Regions from separate parts of the Homo sapiens genome. Here all the other regions are linked to region 1. The links are contacts of gene promoters, found by promoter capture Hi-C in human tissues and cell types (Jung and others, 2019). All regions are on one chromosome and are shown on one strand. Each heading gives the region's core, a stretch centred on a gene start or on the middle of the fragment in contact. The rest is flanking DNA. Distances are from core to core; before and after follow the strand shown.

Region 1 (2,500 bases), core at 1-2,500:
TGCCTGGTCACCGGGGAGGAACTTTACAACATCACTGAAGGTTTGAGAATAGTGCTTCTGGCTGGTCGCGGTAGTTCCTAAGCTGCCTTTGTTCCCACTTCTCTGATCCAGGTTAACTTTTAACATTCTGACAAACTCGGACAAAAGTAACGTTGGGATTACGTCAGGAATTCCCACCCTTCAACAAATATTTGTTGCGGGCCTACTATGTACTCAGTGCAATGATACCCAATTTTGTAGTCTCCTAAACAGATCCTACTCGAGAGGTCTTGATTATTTACAGATGCAGTTAGAAAAGCGCCCATATTATTTTTAATTGAGTTCAAGAAATAGAATGCAGCGTTGAATTAGAAGACTAATTCCTTCTTTTAATATGTTGAAAATTTTTTATCGTTAAACATTTTGTAAAGGATTTTTTGAGGGAGTCGTTAGAAAGTCTATAAATACAACTACGCACACTAAAAAGTAGTCATCTTTTTAAAAATAACTTTGTTTAAATGCATGCTTAGTGTGAATGGATTTACCTAATTCTCTTAATAGCATGCATTTCTGATCTTCCCTACATTAACTGTAATAGCAACTGATATAACAGAAAAATGTAAGTGACTTGTAGTCGACTTGGCCACCTGCCACACGGGCTCGGTGAAGGTTAATGAGGAGCTATTTGGCACTTCGAGAATAGGTGGCACTAGACACAGAAATATCAACAGGCTATTTGTATGCTAACTAGGAGTTTCGGTGCCAGGTAACCATTGATGTACTCTTGCAGGAGAAAGAAGGATGTCGCTGTACGCCCCGAAAGAGAGGCATCATTTTTACGCCCAGTTTGGATTAATGATTGATTGAGTCGCAGAAATGCTTGTGATGCTGATAGAGGCCAATACTGGTCTTTCTGATCTCTTCCTCGTCGTTTATTACCTTCTCTTGTGGACAACGCATTCCTAAGAATGTATCTCTGCTTGTTTCCCAGTCCGCGAGATAAATGGTGACTTCTCTCTTGCAGGCACCGTCATACCTCGGGTTTAGATTCTGGACAGGCGAGCCGGCTGCACCGAAGGCCCGGTAGGCGGACTCTGGCGGAGCGCTTCAGAGAGAAGAGTGTAGACCGCGGGAGGCGGAGGGCTCCCTGCCAGCGTGCCTCGGCCAATCAGTATTCACACCGCCTGACAACCGGCCAATCAGAGGACGTAAAGCTCCGGGGCCTGAGCGGACAGTACTAGGAAGGGGAGCGCAGTCTGCAGACTGAAGCCAGTGGCGCTGCGCTGAATGCAACTGCGCGCGCCCGCCGGGTGAGCCAGCGATCTGAGCCAGGCGGGGGCGGCCCGACCTTTCCCGCCCAGCCTGGGTCAGAGGAAGCCGAAAGCGGCCTCAGCAAGGTGAGGCGCCCGAGGCTGCAGAAGACCGAGCAGAACTTTGCAGAGTTCGGGATGTGCTGGGCTAGGTCGCTGAGGACTTGACTGGCTTCCTCCCTCCTTCCCTCCACCTACCTTCTCCCTCCCCCTCCACCATCCAGTGGGTTCGTTCCGGGCCTCCAGCTATCAGCTCCCGATCTCGTGTTTGAGGGTAGCGACCCCGATTTCTGTTTGCATGCACAGCCAGCAGCCCTAGCGCCAGATCCTAAAGCTGGATATCTTTTAACTGGGCTACCAGCCCGGGCCTCAAAGTTTTGGTGAGTGCTGTGATGCCGCTCGGGGTGTCAGGGAGGGCAAAGGGCGTGAATCATCTTTCACCTTTTCTGTGTGACTTGGATGCCTTACCTTAAATATATAAACCAAGGCCTAAGTACAGAGAGCCCACGCGGCTCAGCCCTGTGCACCTCAGGTACTATTAAGGCTGGACGGGCGTCTGTATTGTGCTCTTTGCCCTTATGGGACGCTAATGACAACAAAATTTTGGTTTTCAGTTGAGTATTTTGGGGAGGGGGGTGAGAGGACCTCTTCAAGCCCAAGGAGGGGTCCTTGTGGTGGTGTAGGCTGATGAGAGGCATTTGGGAAGCATAGAGTGGTACTTCAGTGAGTCTGAAGGGCCACTTGTAATCAAAGGAAAACTGTTCTTCCACGGATAGTTTTATATGCATCATGGCCATACTAGTTGAGTATGGGGAAATCCGACAAGTGGCCTGGGGCTGCCTATTTGGACACAATATTTTGTGTGTGTGTGATAAGTGAGTTACCCAGGGACTTGTCCGGAAAGCCCGTGTAAAGCCAGAGAGGGCCACGGTTAAAGGTCAGGTACTCACAGAGCACTTAGAATTAATAAAATAAAACCTTTGTTGGGTTGTGGATCCCTGGGGGCCCTGGAGATACAGGAAAGGCACGTGTGGCCTGGAAGTGAGGGACATGTAATGAGAACAGGATGACTCAAGCGGCCGGAGGCGGGCAGACCAGGAGCTTTGGGCCGGAGGCTCAGGGATGGTCCCTGACGGCGGCCGGTGGGTCTTTGGATTTCTTTGTGTTTCCCCAGAGTGAGGGCCGCCAGGCTCAGGCCCCAGCGAAGCCCC
Region 2 (6,749 bases), core at 1,443-3,942, 380 kb after region 1:
TTGCCGGAGGTCCAGTCCAGACCCTGTGTTCCTGGGTATCAGCAGCGGAGGCTGCAGAACAGCAGATATTGGTGAACAGCAAATGTTGCTGCCTGATCGTTCCTCTGGAAGTTTTGTCTCAGAGGAGTACCCGGCCATGTGAGGTGTCAGTCTGCCCCTACTGGGGGGTGCCTCCCAGTTAGGCTACTTGGGGGTCAGGGACCCACTTGAGGAGGCAGTCTGTCTGTTCTCAGATCTCAAGCTGTGTGCTGGGAAATCCACTACTCTCTTCAAAGCTGTCAGACAGGGACATTTAAGTCTGCAGAGGTTTCTGCTGCCTTTTGTTTGGCTATGCCCTGCCCCCAGAGGCGGAGTCTACAGAGGCAGGCAGGCCTCCTTGAGCTGCAGTGGGCTCCACCCAGTTCAAGCTTCCCAGCTGCTTTGTTTACCTACTCAAGCCTCAGCAATGGCAGGTGCCCCTCCCCCAGCCTTGCTGCCACCTTGCAGTTCGATCTCAGACTGCTGTGCTAGCAATGAGCGAGACTCCGTGGGCATAGGACCCTCTGAGCCAGGCGTGGGATATAATCTCCTGGTGTGCCATTTGCTAAGACCGTCGGAAAAGCTCAGTATTAGGGTGGGAGTGACCCGATTTTCCAGGTGCCGTCCATCACCCCTAGGAAAGGGAATTCCCTGACCCCTTGCACTTCCTGGGTGAGGCGATGCCTCGCCCTGCTTTGGCTCAGGCTCGGTGCACTGCACCCACTGTCCGACAATCCCCAATGAGATGCACCTGGTACCTCAGTTGGAAATGCAGAAATCATTCATCTTCTGCGTCGCTCACACTGGGAGCTGTAGACTGGAGCTGTTCCTATTCGGCCATCTTGGCTCCACACCCAGATACTGAGACATTAAAACTCGTTAGCAGGCAGGCAACATCTAATCTAATAATTAACAAAAAAGCTTTTTTCCCCTAAGTTGTTGAAACATTTGGGGCAGAAGTCCCCTCCCTCAGTTATTTCTAGCTCCTGTTCCTTTCTTTTGCTTGCCAGTGTTGACATTTAACTTGGTTGAGTCACATTTGGAAACACTGTCACAGGTGGGTACTGTTTAGCACAGAGTTTCCACTGGTCTACATCCAAAAAGATTATGGATAACCAAACTCTGAGTTGCAAGAGGAAGGATGTGTCCCTAAAATCTCCATTTTCATAGCAATCTTCCTGGAATCAGAGACAGGGCTGTGCTGTCTAGCCTCTATGCTGGGTGGGTGCCCCATCCCCTGCTTTGGAAAAAGACTCCAGAAGCATGAATGTGATTTTAGGATCCAAGTGGGCCTCTGCACAGAGACTTTCTCAATTTGGCATTGCTGGGGTTAGAGGGTCAAGGTGATCAAACCTGCAGCTCACTTGTGATATTTGCTGGCAGAAACAAGGGGATGTTGGCTTGCTTCTGCAGTTGTTGTGGATTTTTAGGAAAGCTTTCAGAATGTGGAAAATAATTCTGCCTTCATTTTCCCTCACTTGTATCTTCACTTTGCTTTACTTATAGTTTAGGTATGATATTTATCAAAAAACATTAGTTCTAGTTTTAAAAAATGTGTTAAAATTTGCCTCTCTTGTCATACATATTTTTAAAATGTCCCTAGCATATTAGAACAAAAATATTAAAGCTTGAAGGCCCCCAGAGATCATCCAGTTTTTCAGCCTCTTTATAGATAGGGAAACTGAGGGCTGGAGGTACTGTGACTTCTGGGATATCATTTGATAGCATTGTGATTCTAAAAGTGCGATGATCTTGGTCTCTCTTGTCAGACTACAGAGCTCTTTTTAGTTTACCAGGTCACCTGATATGTTTGTGGTCATAGAAAGTCTTAGGTCACAATCTCTGTGAAACAGAGCTCTTCAAAAATATTTAATTAAATCAGTTTGTACTACAAACAAATGAGTGTTCTCTCAGAGTGTAACTTCCCTTTAGTTTTCATTTATGGTCTTTGCAGCAATAAATATATCTGTACAATAGCTAGGCAGTCTCAAAGAAAATATTTTTAGTGGAAATAAATTATTTTTCTTCCACCAATTTCCCTAGGTGAGACTGAATTGAGAATAAGGAAAATAGAGAGGATGTCTGCAAGCCTGTGTGTATTCCATATAGGAATATGGAGAGTGATTCTGTGGTTGATAATTATGCTGCCTTATTTTCTGACAGACCGAGTTTCAGGTCCTAAAAATGTAATATAATCATCAATCTGAAACCTTTTTACAGCATTTGTCAAATTCATCTCTTTTTTTAAATTCAGAAAAATCAATTTTTGATGGATAGAAATCTCAAGGCCCAGAAAGCAGGCATCCTTGGGGTAACTTCCTCTGTAGTAGGCACAGAGCTGTACATGAGAGTTTGAATTAATATTTTGATGTTTCCCAAGCTTCATTCTTACTTGAGTAAAGGGGAGAAGTGGAGGACTGGGGAGGTCTTTAGCAGTGGGAAACCCTTTTCAAACAGAATAAGGAAGACATCACTTTTGATACCTAACCCCAAGCCAAACACAGAATGTTCTAGCAGCCTTAAGATTTCTGGTTTAATTGCTCTATCTAAGAGACTAATTTATATGCCCATCCCCTTGAAAGCTGTCAATCTGAAATTCTCTTTGAAAGTCAGGTGGCTTGCTTTATACTCAGCAGGCATGTTCCATGGTAGCTCTGTTGTCCAGAGCTCTCAGCAGAAAAGTTTATGCTCTTTGTAATTCTATATCTCTCCTTCAAATCTCTTTGTAATTCTACATTGATCAGTTGGGACATGGAAGCTGAAAGAATTTCAGGCCATGCTGCAACTCTGTACATTCTGAAAATTCTCTGGAGGAAATTCTTACTTTACCCTATTTGTTTACTATAGACAAAATATACATATAATAACATATTTATTATTATAAATATAAATATTTGTTTATTATATAATAATCCCAGATAAAATAATCTCAGAAATACTCTGGTGGCAAGTATAGACTGGCTTTTAAATATCTCTAATTATCTGAGCATCTAGGGACTCAATCTATCTAACTTGTGTCATTGGTGCTGAAGTCAATCATTATAATGTGGAAAGAAACCTCTTTTCCATCAAAGTCAAGAATGCCTATCCTTGCACTCTGGGAAAATAATATTTATTATAAAGGCAATTGTGACATCCCAAACCATAGTTGTTATCAAGTTCCTCATACTCTAAGATCCTTTATGTAAGAATGGAGGGAATAAATTTCATAGTTTCATTCTTTCGTAGGTACTGGAATTGCCATCTCCAATATACGTGTTATTAAAAATTATCTTGAAATAATCAAACAGTCAAAGGGGACATTGGAAATGAGGTAGTGAAAAGACTACGGGACTCACAAGTAGATAGACTTGGGTTAACACACTGCGGGTGGTAAGGTGGTTGACTTGGCAAGTGAGTTGTCTAACTTTTCTAATCTCAGTGGTTTTTCTTGTGAAGTGGGACTAATAAAATTATCACAGTGTTGTTCTAAGAATTCATTGAGACAATGCGTGTAAAGTGTCTGGCTTATTAGGAACTTAATAAATACTGATGTTTCTCCCTGCTGAAGACTTTAATACTACTTTTGATTTATGTGCTGGTTTTGTCCTGAAAGTTGTTTTTAGGTCCAGTAGTTTTTGTTGGCTCAGTTGGGAGCTCTGAATGAATGAAAATCCCAGGCAACTCTGACATTGGGCTGGGTGAAAGATCCATTCCCAAGAAGTTCAAGGAAATCAATACCTTCCTAATTTCTTCACTCGGTGTAGAGTTATAGGTGTTGCCCCAAATTCTGATACTCAAGTCTGATAACAGTGTGGTGGTTTCCACTGTTAGAAAACCTACCCAATGTTGTATTACTCCTTGTGCCCAACATCTTCTTAAAAAAGCTGTGGATAAACTGATTTTTTGAGAGGCTATGGAAGTTTGACAAACTGGTATTCTATTGCCTTGGGTAGAGATGGTTAAGTGTGGGAGTCAAATGAAGAAACACCACCATCAGGGAGGACACTAGAGATAGGGGCTCATACACACAGAGCTCACGGCTTGTGCGATGATATTGTGAAGTCATGTTTAAGTGGAAACTCAGACACCAGATGTGTACAGCTGCAGTAGAGGAGCCAACCCAGCCAAAGCCAGAAAAGCCCCATGCTGGTTGTTTTACTTTTGAGTGAGAAGGAAGGGGAAATAAATCTCTCACAATAGATAAAGAGAAGATAGTTCATGTTTTTTTTTATCACCTTTTTCTTTTCCTTTATTTTAAAGTCTAAATGGGGCCATTTGTCTTTAATGTGTTTTACCTATCAAGAAATACGTGAGCAATTCTATATCAATTAAAAAATGTGAACAGTTCTGCAGAAAAATGTTCAGTTCAAGTGGCTTAAGACAGGTTCCATTTGTTCAACAATCTATACTTTTTAAAAGGCTATACTTTTCTTGAGAGTTCCTTAAGTTCATAGCATGAAGAGGGATGAGTTGCTGATCCTATATACGTAAGTATTGCCTTTATAACCGTATTTTTTTCCTCTTTGGGTAAAGATTTCATTTAAACAATCATCAGCAAATGTCTTTGCTAATGGTATATATACAGTGGGACTAACTTTTCTCTGGGGAAGTTAGTCCATTGAAAATTATTTGCTGTAACTTATTCCTTGCCGCAGACAGTATCATGGTCCAACAGAAAAGCATTTAAAACTTTGTTATGTGTTATTAAGGAATATTTACACTTGTGGGGCTATTCTTAAGATAGCCAGAGCACTTTTGTAGCTGAATTACAAAAAGAACACATCCAACCTAGGTTTGTTTGTTTATTTATTTAGGCTACTCCTTGCAGAGCAGGGCTAACTCCTAAGCAGTGTCCCCAGCCTAGTCTTTCTTAAATACAGAAAAGATGAAGCCCAGAATCCTAGTTTTCAGAGTTTATATCTACAAGTCTGACTTATCTGTGAAATTGGCTAGAGCTAGAATATACTTGATTACAACCCCTTTAAAACTGAGCTTCCCATTTTGTCTATACACATATTGAAGACTGTAAAGAAGGAAAACACGTAATGTTTTCTTAAAAATGTCCTAAAATGAGACATTTAAATGTCCTTAAAAATGAAATTCATCATTTGTTATCTTAACATACTAGTATATCTGAAACTTGACAACGCAAGTTTCAGATATACTAGTATGTTAGGATAACAGTAAAAGAAAGATTAGACTAGCAGGGGAATAAAATGCACAACAAAATCTCCTCTCCCTTCCTGTACTCTTATTTGAATGAAAAGACTGGAAAAGATGCTTGGTTTAAACCACATGGGAAAAATATCTTTTCAGCTGCAAACTGCTTTTTATATTTTAGCAATGTAAACACATTGTATGGGAATACAAGGGGCTGTGCTGCCTCCCTGTCCAAATACTGCATGCAGGTAACACCGAACAAGAGGTGGAGTGATAACATGGACAGACTGCCTGGAACACAGATACCATCTCCCAGGGCCCAGGATTCGGAGGCCTAGAGGTAACGCTGGTGTTTCTAGGCTTTGCAACAGTGAAGGACCACTGCCACCTGTGGACAGCAGCAAGCATTAGCGACATGCTGCAGGCCGAGTGAAGTGTCAGTGTTGTATTTTTACAGTGACAACAAGGCAACCTGGTGAACCAGATATTCCAAAATTTTCCCAATAAGTGTTTTATGAGTACCTCCATGGCCTGGGGTAGGACTTTTCACTGCAAATCAATAAGCATCCTTCAGACCATATGTATGTAGGACATGGTCATCATGTGTTAATATAAAACCACAGAGAAGGCATCTTAAATTCTAATGCCTTTGAGGGGCAGTTAGATCATGTAGATGTAAAAGAATAAGAGTGATCAGGACAGCAAATTGGAGACCGCATGCCCTACCTAGATGCATTCAGTTTTGTTTATTTATTTACTTTTTAAAGAATGTACTCCATCAAGCAACATGCGTTTGAAGCTCAGATTCAGCCTGCAACCATCTAGCACCAGAGGTCAGTGAGTGGATGTATGAGATCCCAGGTTACATTTGTGTACCCAGAAGCAAAGGTCTAAGCATGCTTCATTCACTCATTCATTAATGTAGAAATTCAACTTATTCACCGAAAAATACTTATTGCATCTTTGTCTTATTCTAGACATCACTCTATCTTGATAGACAAGTTGGGAAAATAGATATCAAACAAATAATCACACAAATAGAATTACATTTGTAATAAATGAAATGAATGAAAATCCCAGGCAACTCTAAAAATGTGTATCATATTTCATAATATGTGCTTGCTTATAAATCACATCACTACACTATATACCTCTAGAAAAAAAGAAAACCCTGCCAATTAAGTTATAGCTCTGTGCTTTTTTATACATTTTGTCTCATACTTACGGAGAGAATTCATTTTTTACTTAGTGCAACATAGAATTTTTATCACACATTCTTGTGCGTACATAAAAAGGAAAATATAAATTGAATAAGACATTTCTAAAACCTTTTCACATTGAGAGTTGAACTCATTTGAAGCACTTTTTGACACAGAGTCATCAACATCCATGCTGTTGTATGCACTTTAATTTTCTGGTCAGCAAGAGAGACGGACATCAGCATTTTTTGAGAGTGCTCTACTGTTGTCTGTGAGGTGTCTTCCCAGCAGCTGACACTAACTCTTGAAGTTTAGATGCTGGTGCTTTGTTATTTTTATTTTTTATTTTGTAGACATAAGGTCTCTCTCTGTTGCCCAGACTGGAGTACA
Region 3 (6,749 bases), core at 2,729-5,228, 350 kb after region 1:
CTGAAAATTAAATTAAGATAAAAGAGCAACCTTTGCAAGAATAATTTTTATCATTTGTAAATTCAGTAATTGTATTAGTTTCCTAGTGATGCCTTAACAAAGTGCTGCAAACTGGATGGCTTAAACAAGAGCAATAAATTCTGTCAGTTCTGGAGGCTAGAAGTTGAAATCAAGATGTAAGCAGGAGAATCTGTTTCTTGTGCTTCTGTTTGTTTGTGGTGTCACTATCAATCCTTGGCCTGCGCTATATAACTGCAATCTCTGCCTCCCTCATCACAGGGCTTCCCCCGCCACTGCCACCACCCCGTGTCTTCACATTGTGTTGGTACAAAAAAAACAGTCATATTAGATTAAGAGTTTACTCCAGTATGACCTCATCTTAACTCATCTGCACAAGCCCTATTTCCAATTAAAGTCTCATTCTGAGGTACTCGGGGTTAGGACTTCAACATATCTTTTTGAGGGACACAGCTCAATCCATAAGCCATTATTGAATTTTTTTTAAGGAAGTGAAGTACCTCCGTTTTATTTTTTTAATTATGTGAGGAGAAGTGTTTGATGAATGCCCTGGAGTCTAGGGAGAAGTGTCTCTTCTCTGGAAACACCTGAAGGTTTCCAAGTGAAAGAGTGAAAGCTATTAATGTGTTGCATGTATCTACTCCAAGTTAAACCCATTTCACCATGGGCTTCCTGGAATCCTAGACAGTGGTACTGCAAACAGCATAGAGGACGTTTAGTCCTGGGCTTGTCAACCCTTATTGCTGGGTTTTGAGGTTTTTTTTTAAATCAAGCTTGATCTTGTGGGGAGCTTAATCTTTAAACAGAGGAAGACTGAGCTGCTTTCCTCAATGCAGTGGTGGAGGTGGTAAGGCCCTTTTCACATCCACCCTCTTCCTCTCCAAAACTTCAGGGGCACCTCCACAATCCCAGAGTCAGAATCAGCCAAAGAACATATTAATAATTTAGATGGCTGGGTCCTCCTTCCTCCCTGACCTATGGAATGTGAAGCTCAGGGGTAAGAATTTGAATTGTGAACACACTTCCCAAGTGATCCTTTATGTTCACTAAGGTTTAATAACCTCTTTCTTAAGAACTTCATGGAGCACAGTCGGAAAACCTCTGAGCTAGTCCAACCTTGAAGATGAAGAAACAGCCCGCAGAGGAAGCTGTCAGGCAGATGAGGATGGTTAGAGACAGAGCCAGGGCTCCCCCATTTGGCTGGCCTCCAGCATCTCTGCAACAGCAGTACAAGAGGCAGCTCTTTATTTTCTAGCGAAGCTGGGGAGAAAGCCCACCTCTGAACTCTTTCAGAATGTTTCCCACACATTAATTATCAGTAAAGGGTATTTATTTCTTTATTTCGATGGTGGAAAATAAATCCATTACTCGTGTTTTCACCTAATAGAACACCGTATTCCCCAAGGTCAGCATTTTAAAAACTTATAAAAATCGATCTCCAAGAGCTAATGGCTTCGACCGGGAGGTAAGGATTTTGGTTCTAAGCCCTTTCTGTTAACTAATGGCTCAATAACAGGACTGAAATCATTTGGGACTGAAAGGAATTCCTAATGATGAAGGAACATCCTAATAAGAAATGAGTGGGATAGTGCCATAACCCCGAAATCTTGGCGCATTCAGCCTCGTAAACCTGCCGAAGTCCATGAAAACAGCCTTTGTGCCTCCTCTGGCACCACATGTGAGAGAGATCCCAGATTTCTTATGAAGCGAAGTGGCTGGAGCAATGTATCTGACCGTGTGAGGTGACACACACCAGGTCTTGGAGCTGCCTGTAAATGAAGGTCCCTCTTAGTGTTTGGTATTGAACTCTGGGCAGGCGAAGTCAAGAGGACTTTCCCTTGTTTTTCATATTGGTTGGTTGTTAAAGGTATGCAATGTAACTTGGAAGTGGATTAGAGAAAGGGGAACCCATGTCCATTACATGTAAGTGTAACTTGAGTTTTTAGTAGAATGTAAAAGTAAGACAGGGCCCTAAAGCCTCTTAATTTTAAACAATTTGAATCTCCACTCAAGTCTCACCAGGCTGTGTGTACAATGTTTTAGCACAAGTCAATAAACTAATGTTTTTGTGCTGTGCTTGTTCTTCGGGGAACTGTCTGTGTAGCTAGTCCTATTTCCATCTTTTGCTTGTTGGGAAGTGGCCCAGTGGTCTCACAAAAGATAGACCATGTTTTTCAAGACTCAACATTGTACCCAATCTTGAAAGCTACACTCATGACTGTTCATAAAGAATCTGCTACCATTGTGGCATGTGGGTATGAGCTGAAGACAAAAGTTTCCTTTTTAATTTATGGAGGCTATCAGCTTCCTCACTGACAAGAATGTAGCTGCACCTTTCTGATAACAGTGCCACCTGGCACCTTCCTAAAGATGGATGCTCCACCTGATGACCCATTTGTGACAAAGAGAAATATAGCAGCTGCATGTCTTGGAATGCTCGTGCCAGCATGGGGAGTGTGCCTTCTCTCTCTGTGGGCAGCTTTCTAATTGCAAGCAGTGCCAGCTCCATAATTTATGAGGCCCAGTGCAAAATGAAAATGTGAGTCTTCTTGTTCAAAAAGCAGGAAAAAAATTTCATTAAAGGAACTAAATGGTAAGGCTTCTCCCTGTCTTCCTTTGTATTTCTCTCAACTTGGTATTTTAAATTTACAGTTTAATGTCATTTTAAGTGAAGAACAATAAAAAATTATTAACATGAATTTTACTGTTTATATTGTACAATGCTAGTTTTATAGGCAAATTTAAGATCATTTAACTCATATAGGAATCATGAAAATTACACAATGGGTATTTCATAGCTCACGCATGCATATGTATTTTGTTCTCACAAGAACAATGGAATGGCTGCACAAAACTAACCCAATTGTTTCTCTTTCACTTCTTGATTCACCAGTTTGTACTAACACTCCTCACTTTGGGCTTACTGAGGAATAAGGAAGAACTGAAAGGAAAAAGGAATTATGGGTTTCCCTATATGTTCCTGTCTATGCCATATTTTTCAGCATAAGTAGTTGGGCAATACAGAGAAATAACATGGGTAAGAAGATATACAATAGGGTTCCTTGGTAGTTCTTGTTACTTAGAACATCATTGCATTCTTTCTGCATCTGAAGCAAGTTCTAGTTAGAATGGAGAGCATGGCCACTCTGGGCTATCAGTGTCCCTGCTTATTCAGTTGTAGGCATAACATGCTTACATTAAACTCCCTTTGGATTGTGCTGAATGCCCATGAATTAGAAGTCCACCAGACTTCTGGGCTCATGGGGCATTGCAAATGCTGTTTGTGAATGGAAGAGCATGCACGTTGCCTGTATCTCCTTTGTTCATGTGCCTGCTCCATTGTCCTATTGGATTTCAGTTACAAAACACAGATTCAAAGATAAAATTACTAAGAATTTCAAGATGGCAACAGCAGAGCATTAAACCACACATGGGACCGTTCTGAGCATGGAGACTTGTGTGGCTGCCCAGGTCTCAAAGCCAGGAAGCCATCCCTGATGGGAAGTTATAATCAGAGAGTGTTTGGTAAGCATGAAATAAAGATCAAGGACTTCAGGAGACCTTAAGTGACCATTATGCGGCATTGAGACCAGGGCATGTTCTAGTTCAAGTGACCATTTCGGTCATGGCTCAGATGTCATCTTCTTAGAGGCTACTCCTAATCATCCATTCCAAAGTAACTCTCCCTTCATCATTCACTATTACAGCAGTGGGTCTCAAATTTCAACCTGTATGACTGATGGTCCCACCCCCAGCGCATCTGATTCAGAAAGTCTTCAGTGAGGGCTGAGAATCTGCTTTCCTAACATGTTCCCCGATGATGCTGATACTGCTAATTTAGGGATCAAACTCTGAGAACCACTGCTCTGTTTCATCACCCTGCTCTTCTTTTATACAACATTTTCCTGGAATTATGTTTGTATTTTAAAATTTGCCTATTGTCTGGTTCCACCACAAGAAATTAAGCTCATCGCGAACAGGAATTTAGTCAGCAAAGTTTAACTGCTATGTTTCGAGGATTCAGAATATGCCTAACTTGTTATAGGTACTCAGTAAATATTTATTGAATTAACAAATGGACGCATGGCCAGGAAGTTCAATGGGTGAAAGATTTTTTAGATGGTGGTGATTGGAGTGGGTCTGGGCCACAGAAATACTTGTATCCACACCCAGATAGGGGGCGGTGCTCATCAAATTTTCTTCTAGGCAAATAAAATACAAAGTTGCAAATCTAGGGGCAGGGAGCAGTAATCATGAAACATGATGCTAGTGAACCAACAGGATAATTTCAATAGTAGGGATAGGAGGGCTGCATAATTTCCTCTAAGGCTTGAGTATGTGGCCATTGCTAAAACAGAATAACATGCAAAGCTCCCTCCTGTGCCTAGGTGAATTCTATAGCCTCAGCAACTCTGTACATGAGGGGTCCCTGCATGACTTCTGGTTGACAAAAGCAGTTATTTAAGCCTCTTGGGAAGAAGCCTTTGCTGTTGGTTCTTAACCCCTGGTGTATTAAACTCACTCCTCCCTCCAACCTCTAGTGAATCTAATTTGCTGTTCCTAGGGGAGTGTATTTGGTCTGCATAAATAAGTACCACAGACTTTTTGGCAGGTGGCTTAGACAGCAGACATTTATTCCCTTGCCAATCTGGAAGCTGTCAGAGACCAAAAATTCATCAGGGTTGGTTTCTCGGAAGGCCTCTCTTCTTGGCTTGTAGCTGGCCATTTTCTCCTCTTTGTCTCCACATGGTCTTCTTTCTGCGCTTGTCTGTGTCCTAATCTTTCATTTTAAAGACACCAATCAGATTAGAGCCCACCCCAAGAGCTTCATTTAACCTTAAGTACCTCGTTAAAGACCTTGTCTCCATATACAGTCATATTCTGGAATCCTGGGTGTTAGGACTTCAACGTATGAATTTCGAACGGATGCAATTCAGCCTTAGCAGGTGGGACCCCAGGAAGTTGTATTTCTAGCAGTGTCTCCAGGTAATTTCGATGAAGCCAGGCCTAGAGCCCGTGTTTGGTAGCTTCTACAAACACCTGCTAGTTCTGCAGCCTCCTCCACTGGCATGACCCTCTCTTTTCACCTTTGCAAATGAGGGCTTCTCTGCCAGGCCAGCTGACTTTCAACTAGATTGTAACAGATATGCTCCGGAAGGAATCAGTAACCCAATACCTTGCTGCCTGCAAACATAATCTGGGTTTGTTTGTGGCTGGGCTTCTGGATATCAACCTAGAGACATTTCATTTCCAATGAACTATGTTCTCAAAAGCAAGGTAGGTTTGCTCTTTGCAGAAAAACCTGAATCTGAAGACGGGTTGTAAGTGAAGCTTAGTGTGTTGGAAAATGGATCAAATGTAGACCTAATTGCCTATAATTTATTGTCTGTGGTCACAATTTAGTCTGCTTTCCAAGAATCCTGATTAAATCCTCAACCTCAGGATACCCCAAGGAGCGGTGCAACACTAACAAGCATTTGCCTGAAAAGTCAATCTTCAGTATATATTTCCCTCATATAAATCCTTCCTTTCTTCCACTCTCAAAACTGTCCATATGAATGCAAATAACTCATCTATAGTAGGAGCCACTCTCTCTGCATGTGTGTTTTGGATGTAGGGAGTACGGGGGTGAGGTAGGTTGGGATTAGCCTTCCACCATCTGTGTGAAACAGTTTAATTTTAAAAGCACACTCTATTTGCCATTTTTTTTTGAGTTTATGAAGTGCTAAGTCTGCTCCCAGGTGGAGACAATATTTTCCTTTGAGTTTCGTGGAGCAAGAGCAGTTTTTGAATTGTGCCTTGCATGTCTCAGGGATAAAGTGATACATTTTCTTGACCAATCCTGCTATATTAACAGCGGTGGCGCCAATATCACAAGTTAAATATAGAATTTACTATTGGTGTGGGATGTCAAGGTTCAGCTGTCCTCAGCTTTGATTTTGGACCAAAAGGAGGCCTAGATACAGGGGCTCTATCATTCTTCTAGAGGGTTTGAAAATATGTGGAAATGTGTTTTAGGGGTCACATGTTTGGGGGTATTCCTGAAATGCAATGGAAGGAGGCAGAGAAATGAGACATCTCATTCTGTTCAGAGCAGTTTGGCACAATGAAGACTGATGCACCCAAAATGCTTTTAACAGGCCTCCTGGGAGCCTCACGATGGTTATCAAAGCATGAGTTTTAGTAACAGCAAAGATGGAATGAAAATTGATGTGATGCTTCCCTTCAAACCCTCAAGCACTGAAAACAGGCTGAGGGAAGAGGCTGGCCTGGCTTGTCCTACCTAACTTGTTCAGGAGGAAAGTGGGAGCCGAAGAAGCCAGTAGATCTTGCCTGTGCCTTGATCTCCAGGCCCTGCCTGGTTTGTACTTTGCACAGAACCTACAAGCTCAAGACAGTGCCCCTGAGCCTTAATGCTGCTGGCTTAGGAGAGAGGTGAGGCCACCCAAGTAAGTGTTATCCCCACCCAGAGAGAAACGTAGTCCCATGAAGGCAAGTCAGCCAGGCAGGGAGGAGAGTGTTGGGTAGAGTAAAAAACTGAAGTCCTGAACTTCTCAGAAAGGACACAAGAGTTTATGTGGTTCTGTTTACTAAGGGGCATGAATGGAATATAGGAGAACTATTCTTCCTTATTTTTTGCACTTCATCTGTATAAATTAATACAAGTATTTTCCTCATAACTTCTTCAATTCCTTGGCATCATCCTCAAGGGATATAGGACTTCCTCTTTG
Region 4 (6,749 bases), core at 1,649-4,148, 300 kb after region 1:
TGGTCTTTTCACTCTTGGGCCGGGGAGGGCATGCAAAAGGAAAGGTTGTGTCTTAGTCATCTTTGGCTGCTATAACAAATTATAATAGACTGGGCAGGTTAAACGCAGGTATTTTTTTCTCACTGTTCTGGAGGATGGAAATCTGAGATAAGGGTGCTACCATGTCTGAGTTTTGGTAAGGTTCCTCTTTCTGATTTGCAGACAGTCATCTTCTAGCTGTGTCCTTACATAATGAAGAGAGAACTGTCTCTCTTCCTGTTCTTCTAAGGGCCCTAATCCTATTATGAGTGCTCCACCCTCATGGCCTCATGTCTCCCTAATCACCTTCCAAAAGCCCCATCTGCAAACACCTTCACTTTCGGGTTAGGGCTTCAACATATGAACTTGGGGGGACACGATTCAGTCCATAGCAGGTTGGCTGCACATTCATAAATTTCTGGGTTTCCTGGATAGCTGGATTTACTAGGCTCATTTCATACCACGCTCTTTCCAATGTATTTACTTTTTTTATTTTTTTAATTGGCAAAAATTGTTTATATTTATCTTGTATAACATGTTTTGAAGTATGTGTACACTGTGGAATGGCTAAATCAGCTAATTAACATACGTATTACCTCACATACTTATCTTTTGTGATGAGAGCACTTAAAATCTACTTTCTTAGCAATTTTCCATAATATAATACAGTGTTATTAACTATAGTCACCACATTGTACAATAGGTCTCTTGGACTTATTCCTCCTGTCTACCTGAAATTTTGTACCCTTTGACCAACATCTTTTCCCCTTTCCTACCCCAGCCTCTGGTGCCCACCAGTCTACTCTCTGCATCGATGAGTTCAGTTTTCAGATTCCACACGTGAGATCATGCAATATTCATCTTTTTGTGCCTTGCTTATTTTAATTAACATAATGTCCTCCAGGTTCATCCATGTTTTTGCAAATGATAGTATTTCCTTCTTTCTTATGGCTGAATAGTACTCCATTGTGTATATATGCCACATTTTCTTTATTCATCCTTTAATGGACACTTAAGTTAATTCCATGTCTTGGCTATTGTGAATAGTGCTGAAATAAACATGGGAGTCCAGATAGCTCTTTGACATACTGATTTATTTCCTTTGGGTTTATACTCAGCAGTGGGATTGCCGGATCATATGGTGGTTCTATTTTTAATTTTTTAGTGAAAATCCATACTGTTTTTTATAGTGGCTATGCTAATTTACATTTCTACCAACAGTGTGCAAGGGTTTTCTTTTCTCTACATCCTTGCCAGCACTTGTTATCTTTCGAAAATAGGCTTTCTAACTGGGGTGAGATGACAACTCATTGTAGTTTTAGTTTGCATTTTCTTGATGATTAGTGATCTTAAATATGTTTTTTCATATAGCTGGTGGCAATTTTTTATGTCTTCTTTTGGGAAATGCCAATTCAGTTCCTTTACCAGTTTTATAATTGACTTTTTTTTTTTGCTATTGGAATGTTTGAGTTCCTTATATATTTTGGACATTGACTCTTTATCAGATGTGTGGTTTGCAAATGTGTTATCCCACTTCATAGTTTATCTCTTTCTCTGTTAATTGATTGTTTCCTTTGCGTGCTGAAGCTTTTTAGTTTGATATAATCTCTTTTTTTATTCTTGCTTTTACTGCATGTGCTTTTGGAATCATATCCAAATAATCATTGCCTAGACCAACATCATGGAGCTTTCCTGTATCCTTTTCTCTAGTTACTTTACAGTTTCAGGTTTTAAGTCAGTAGTTCATTTTGAATTGATTTTTTTATCTGGTATTAGTTAAAGGTATAATTGTATTCTTCTGTATGTGGATATCCAGTTTCCTCAACACCATTTATTGAAAAGACTATCATTTCCTATTGTGTGTTCTTGACACCTTTGTCAAAAATCAATTGACTGTAATTGTGTGGACTTATTTCTGGGATCTCTATCTTGTTCCACTGGTCTGTGTATCTGATTTTTGCCAGTGCCTTGCTGTTCTGATTATTATACCTTTGTAGTATATTTTGAAGTCAGGTAGTGTGATGCTTCCAGTTTTCTTGTTTTTGCTCAAGATTGTTTGGCTATCTAGGGTCTTTTGTGGTTCCATGCAAATTTTAGGATTTTTTTCTATTTCTGCTAAAAATGTCATTGGAATTTTGGTAGGGTTGCATTGAATCTGCAGATTACTTTCGGTAGTATGGACGTTTTAACAATATTTATTCTACCAATCCATGAACTTGGGATATCTTTCCATTTATTTGTGTCTTCTTCAATTTCTGTAATCAATGTTTTATAATTTTCAATGTACAGGTCTTTCACCTCCTTGGTTAAATATATTCTTAAGTATTTTTTTTTCTGGTAGCTATCATAAATTAAATTTTTTATTGATTTCTTTTTTGGATAGTTGTCAGTGCATAGAAACACTATTGATTTGTATATGATGATTTTGTATCCTCCAACTTTACTGAGTTTTTCAGTTCTAGCAGTTGTTTGGTAGATTCCTTAGGGTTTTCTAAATATAAGTTCATGTCATCATAACATGATCTTATATTTATAAATAAATATGAAAGGTAACAAATGTTTGTCTTAAAAGACAAGACAATTCTCTTATCTTTTAAAAACCTAAGTCAGATCTCCTTTCATCTCTACTCAGACCCCAGAATTGTCTTCCCATCTCGCCGAGGGTAAAAGCCAATGTTCTTACATAGCTTGCAAGACCTTTGGTGATCTGGCTCCTGAAATGCTCCCTGTCATTCATTCTTCTGCAGCCATCCTGTCCTCTCTCCTGTCCTTTAAACAATCAGGCACCTCCCTAGCACCTCAGGGCCTTTGCACTGGTTGCTTGTTCTGCCTGGAGCACTCAGATGTACACACGTCTTGCTCTCTTTCTCCTTCAAGTATTTGATCAAATATCCCTTTCACACCTAGGCTAGGTGTGAAATACCCTACTTAAAATAAAATTGTTGCCTGCCCGCTTACTGGTCTGCTCAAACTAGTCACCCTGCTTTATTTTCCTCCATAGGACTTACCAGAGTCTTACAAACAAATCCTTATTTATTTTCTTTATTGTCTGCCTAGCCCCTTTAGAACAAAAGCTCTATCAGGGAAGAAATTTTAGTCTGTTTGGCTCAATGTGGTTTCCATGTCTAGATTCTACGTAGGGCCTGGCACAGGTATTCAACAGACATCTGTTGAATAAATGAATTTTCTTTCTGTGGTAAAGAGAGGAGTCCCTGGGGATATGGTAGAGCTGGAATTTCCCCGTTAAATCCTTTTCATTTCATGCTTTTCTGTTCTGCGTTATGCTCCACTTTGGAATAACTCAACTAAATAACCATTAGGTAGAAGACCAACCCTACACATAGTGTTTTAGAAATTTCTATTCCCCAAATGAATTACATACTCCCAAACATCTCCCTGTGGGCCTACCAAATGCCCCAAATAGTCATTCCAGCATATTTATCCAACTGAAACTGCCTTGTTGAGGACACCAGTGGTAAAAATAATGAGGAACATTTGTTCATTGTTCACCACGTGCCAAACACTGGAGTAAGCACTAATGTGCATTATTAGCTCATTTCCGATAATACTCATTTTACAGTTGAGAGACTAAGAGTTAGAATTGGAGGGGAAGGGGGTTTGTTTGGGAGAAGAATGTCCCAGTGAAAGGTACAGCAAATTTGAAAGTTTAGAGGAAAGTGAGAGTACCGGAAGACATCTAGAAAGGTGGAAGTGGAGAGTGCATGAGAAATGAGTCAAGTTAAGGATGGAAGAATCATAGTTATAAAGGCTTGTGGTTCATCAGCTTAGAAGTTTCTACATAAATATCTCGGTTAAAATTTCACCAATTTTTAGACTCTTAAGCCCATGAAATTCTAATCTATCATTTTAGTCCTTCCTCCACTTTACTGGGAGGTTGTCAGTTGTTTTCATGTAAAGAATTCATTTTCTTCTGGGCATCTTAAAACTAAGGAAAAGCAGGTTCTCTTTTTAAAAAACAATGTGTTTTCCCACTCAGTATGTTCATATTTTTGTTTTTGGTGATTGTCAGACACTTTTGCTTTATAAACAAAAGCTACTGAATTCATAGTTATTATTCTGCTTGATTCTGCTCCAAAGTAGTTAAATGGAACCTAATGTCAGAAAAGTTTACATGACAATGTATTTACTAGGATTAATCCTTCACTCTAAGATCAAACAGGAGAACTAAAGGCAATAATTTTTATCAGATTGCAAATATCTGAAGCAGTGGTTCAGGGAAGAATTAGAGGAAATCACAACTTCAGTCATAAAAGAATTATACTATTTATATAAATAAAATCATTCTAGAGTATTGCCTATTTATAGCAAAGGTTTTTTTTGCCATATGAGATGAATTGATAATTAATCTGTATATATTTTTTGTTGGCAATTTCTTTAGAAAAATACGACAAAATATAAAGTATTATAAAATAAATACAAAAGGTCTACAAAATTGCAACCATATTTGTTATAAGCTAAAAACATAATTCTTTTTAATACTCCAGAAGACATTATCAGACATTTACCAAATTAACATGATAGTGAAGTTTTAATGTAAACTATTAGAAAATGGACAACAGGTAGATAGATATATATCATTTCCCTGATGATAAGTTATATCATGAAGAAAATGCAAGGCTGGGTGTGGTGGCTCATGCCTGTAATCCTAGCACTTTGTGAGGCTGAGGCGGGCAGATCACTTGAGGTCAGGTGTTTGGGGCCAGCCTGGCCAACATGGTGAAACCCTGTCTCTACTAAAAATACAAAAATTATCTGGGCCTGGTGGCATGTGCCTGAATAATCCCGCTACTTGGAGGGCTGAGGAAGGAGAATCGCTTGAACCCAGGAGGTGGAGGTTGCAGTAAGCCGAGATTGTACCACTGCACTCCAGCCTGGGTGATAGAGCAAGACTCCATCTCAAAAACAAACAAACAAACCAACAGACAAACCAAAAAAAATAAAAAAGAAAATGCAAATTAAAACAATGAGATATCTTAAAAAGAATAAAATCATATTTTTGCAGCATCATGGATGAACCTGGAGGCCATTACCTTAAATGAAATAACTCAGAAACAGGAGGTCAAATACCACGTGTTCTCATTTGTAAGTGGAAGCTAAATAATGAGTATATATGAACATAGAGTGTGAAATAATAGACATTGGAGACACAGAAGCTGAGAGGGTGGGATGTGGGGAGGTGGATGAAGGAAGATAAAAACTTAATGGGTGCAATGTACATTATTTGTGTAATGATTACACTGAAAGCCTAGACTTCACCACTACGTAATACATCCATGTAACAAAATGCACTTGTACCTTTTAACCTTATACAAACAAAAAAACCGAATGAGATATCACCTCACATCTGTTAGAATGACTATTTTGAAAAAGAGATGAAAGATAGTAAGTTTAGGCAAGGAATCAGAGAAAAGGTTCAGTTCTGAAGATTCATTTATTCATTCATTTAACAAGTATTGAATGCCAGTTATGTGCCAGGCACTAGTATAGCCACTACAGTGAGTAAAGTAAAATTTTGTGGTCATTGACTCTATATTCTGGTGGAGAAAAACAGACAATAAACAAACCAATAAATATATATCAAATATCAGATGATAATTTCTAAAGATTAGGGGACAGAGTATGCGGGCTGAAGATGTTGCTGCAGAAGTTATATATCAGAGGGCAAAAATCAGATTACCAACCAAATGGCTAACCAGGCAGCTAACAAAGAATGTAACATAGTATTTGTGGCTCTGTTACAAGTCTGGTGTCCTCTGTTCTATGTTCATCTCATACTCAATGTCTGACCCTGGGTACATAATATTTTCTGAGACCCGAATTATTCAATTGTCAAGGAGAGGGTTGTGTAAGTCAGTCCTTGAGGCCTTCTCTGGCTGTGCATTTTCGGCTCTGTCTGAAATTGAATGAATGCTTAGCTGTAGACAGACAAAGTGCTCAGAACCCTGTGCACTTAGTTGAGAAATCAGGGGAGAGGGGAGACTAAAATAGAATATGGTAGTTGTTCCACTTGTAGTTAAATACAGGATCCCAGTTCTCCTTTCTTAGGCTGAATAACGGTCCCCTATGTTATCAAGTCCTAATCCCGAGACCCTGCAAATGCTGCTTTATTTGGAAAAAAGGGTCTTTGCAGATGTAATTACATTAAGGATATTGAGTTAGGGGGATTATCCTGGATTATCCACAAGGGCCCTTAATGCAATCACATGTATGCTTATAAAACAGGCAGAGAGAGACTGGACCCACTCAGAGGGGAAGACCACATGAAGAAAGGTCTGAAGATGCTGGTCTTGATTACAGTGAGGAGGGGATAATCCAAGAAATGCCCACAATGACCAGGAGCTGGAAGAGGCAAAGAATGAATTCTCCCCTAAAGCCTCCAAAGAGAGCATGGCCCTGTTAATACCTTGGTTTCAGCCTAGTGATACTGATTTTGGGTTTTTGGCCTCCAGAGCTCTAAGTAAATAGAACTGTGTTGTTTCAAGCCATCAAATTTGTGGTAATTTGTTCTAGCAGGTTCGAGAAACTAACAGTAGGACTAGCACTTCCCTGTGCAAGTTAGATGCAGCCATATGGTTGCTTTGGCTGATGCCATGTGAGTGGAAGTGATGTGTGTCTTTAGAGCAAGTGCCTGCTTTTCCATGCTCTCTTTTCCATTTGGTGATGGAAAGTTTGGAGATGGTGGCTGCCTTGTTGTCCTGGTAGATTAGAGT

What was found. Contacts are between HindIII fragments. The study calls those that stand out against the background at their distance.
Region 2: a fragment that was not itself captured here is called in contact with the fragment with the promoter of DMRT2 in region 1 in 2 of the 25 tissues and cell types used here (mesenchymal stem cells and mesendoderm cells).
Region 3: a contact is called between a fragment that was not itself captured here and the fragment with the promoter of DMRT2 in region 1, in 2 of the 25 tissues and cell types used here (mesendoderm cells and stomach).
Region 4: a fragment that was not itself captured here is called in contact with the fragment with the promoter of DMRT2 in region 1 in 2 of the 25 tissues and cell types used here (mesendoderm cells and thymus).

What each region holds. Positions count from the first base shown.
Region 1 is chr9:1,049,107-1,051,606 of GRCh38, forward strand. It overlaps DMRT2 (doublesex and mab-3 related transcription factor 2), which reads left to right and starts at 1,251. Exons shown (of 4, transcript NM_181872.6): 1 at 1,251-1,669; 2 at 2,464-2,500. RefSeq lists an enhancer at 1,023-1,892. The HindIII fragment of the contact is 14,990 bases long and covers 1-2,500 here.
Region 2 is chr9:1,423,996-1,430,744 of GRCh38, forward strand. The region is part of intron 3 of LOC102723803 (a long non-coding RNA gene); the gene reads left to right. Among named protein-coding and RNA genes, the nearest start is that of DMRT2, 380 kb to the left of the region's middle. The HindIII fragment of the contact is 4,038 bases long and covers 674-4,711 here.
Region 3 is chr9:1,399,976-1,406,724 of GRCh38, forward strand. The region is part of intron 3 of LOC102723803 (a long non-coding RNA gene); the gene reads left to right. Among named protein-coding and RNA genes, the nearest start is that of DMRT2, 350 kb to the left of the region's middle. The HindIII fragment of the contact is 7,432 bases long and covers 263-6,749 here.
Region 4 is chr9:1,343,477-1,350,225 of GRCh38, forward strand. All of the region lies in intron 3 of LOC102723803 (a long non-coding RNA gene), which reads left to right. Among named protein-coding and RNA genes, the nearest start is that of DMRT2, 300 kb to the left of the region's middle. The HindIII fragment of the contact is 5,830 bases long and covers 1-5,813 here.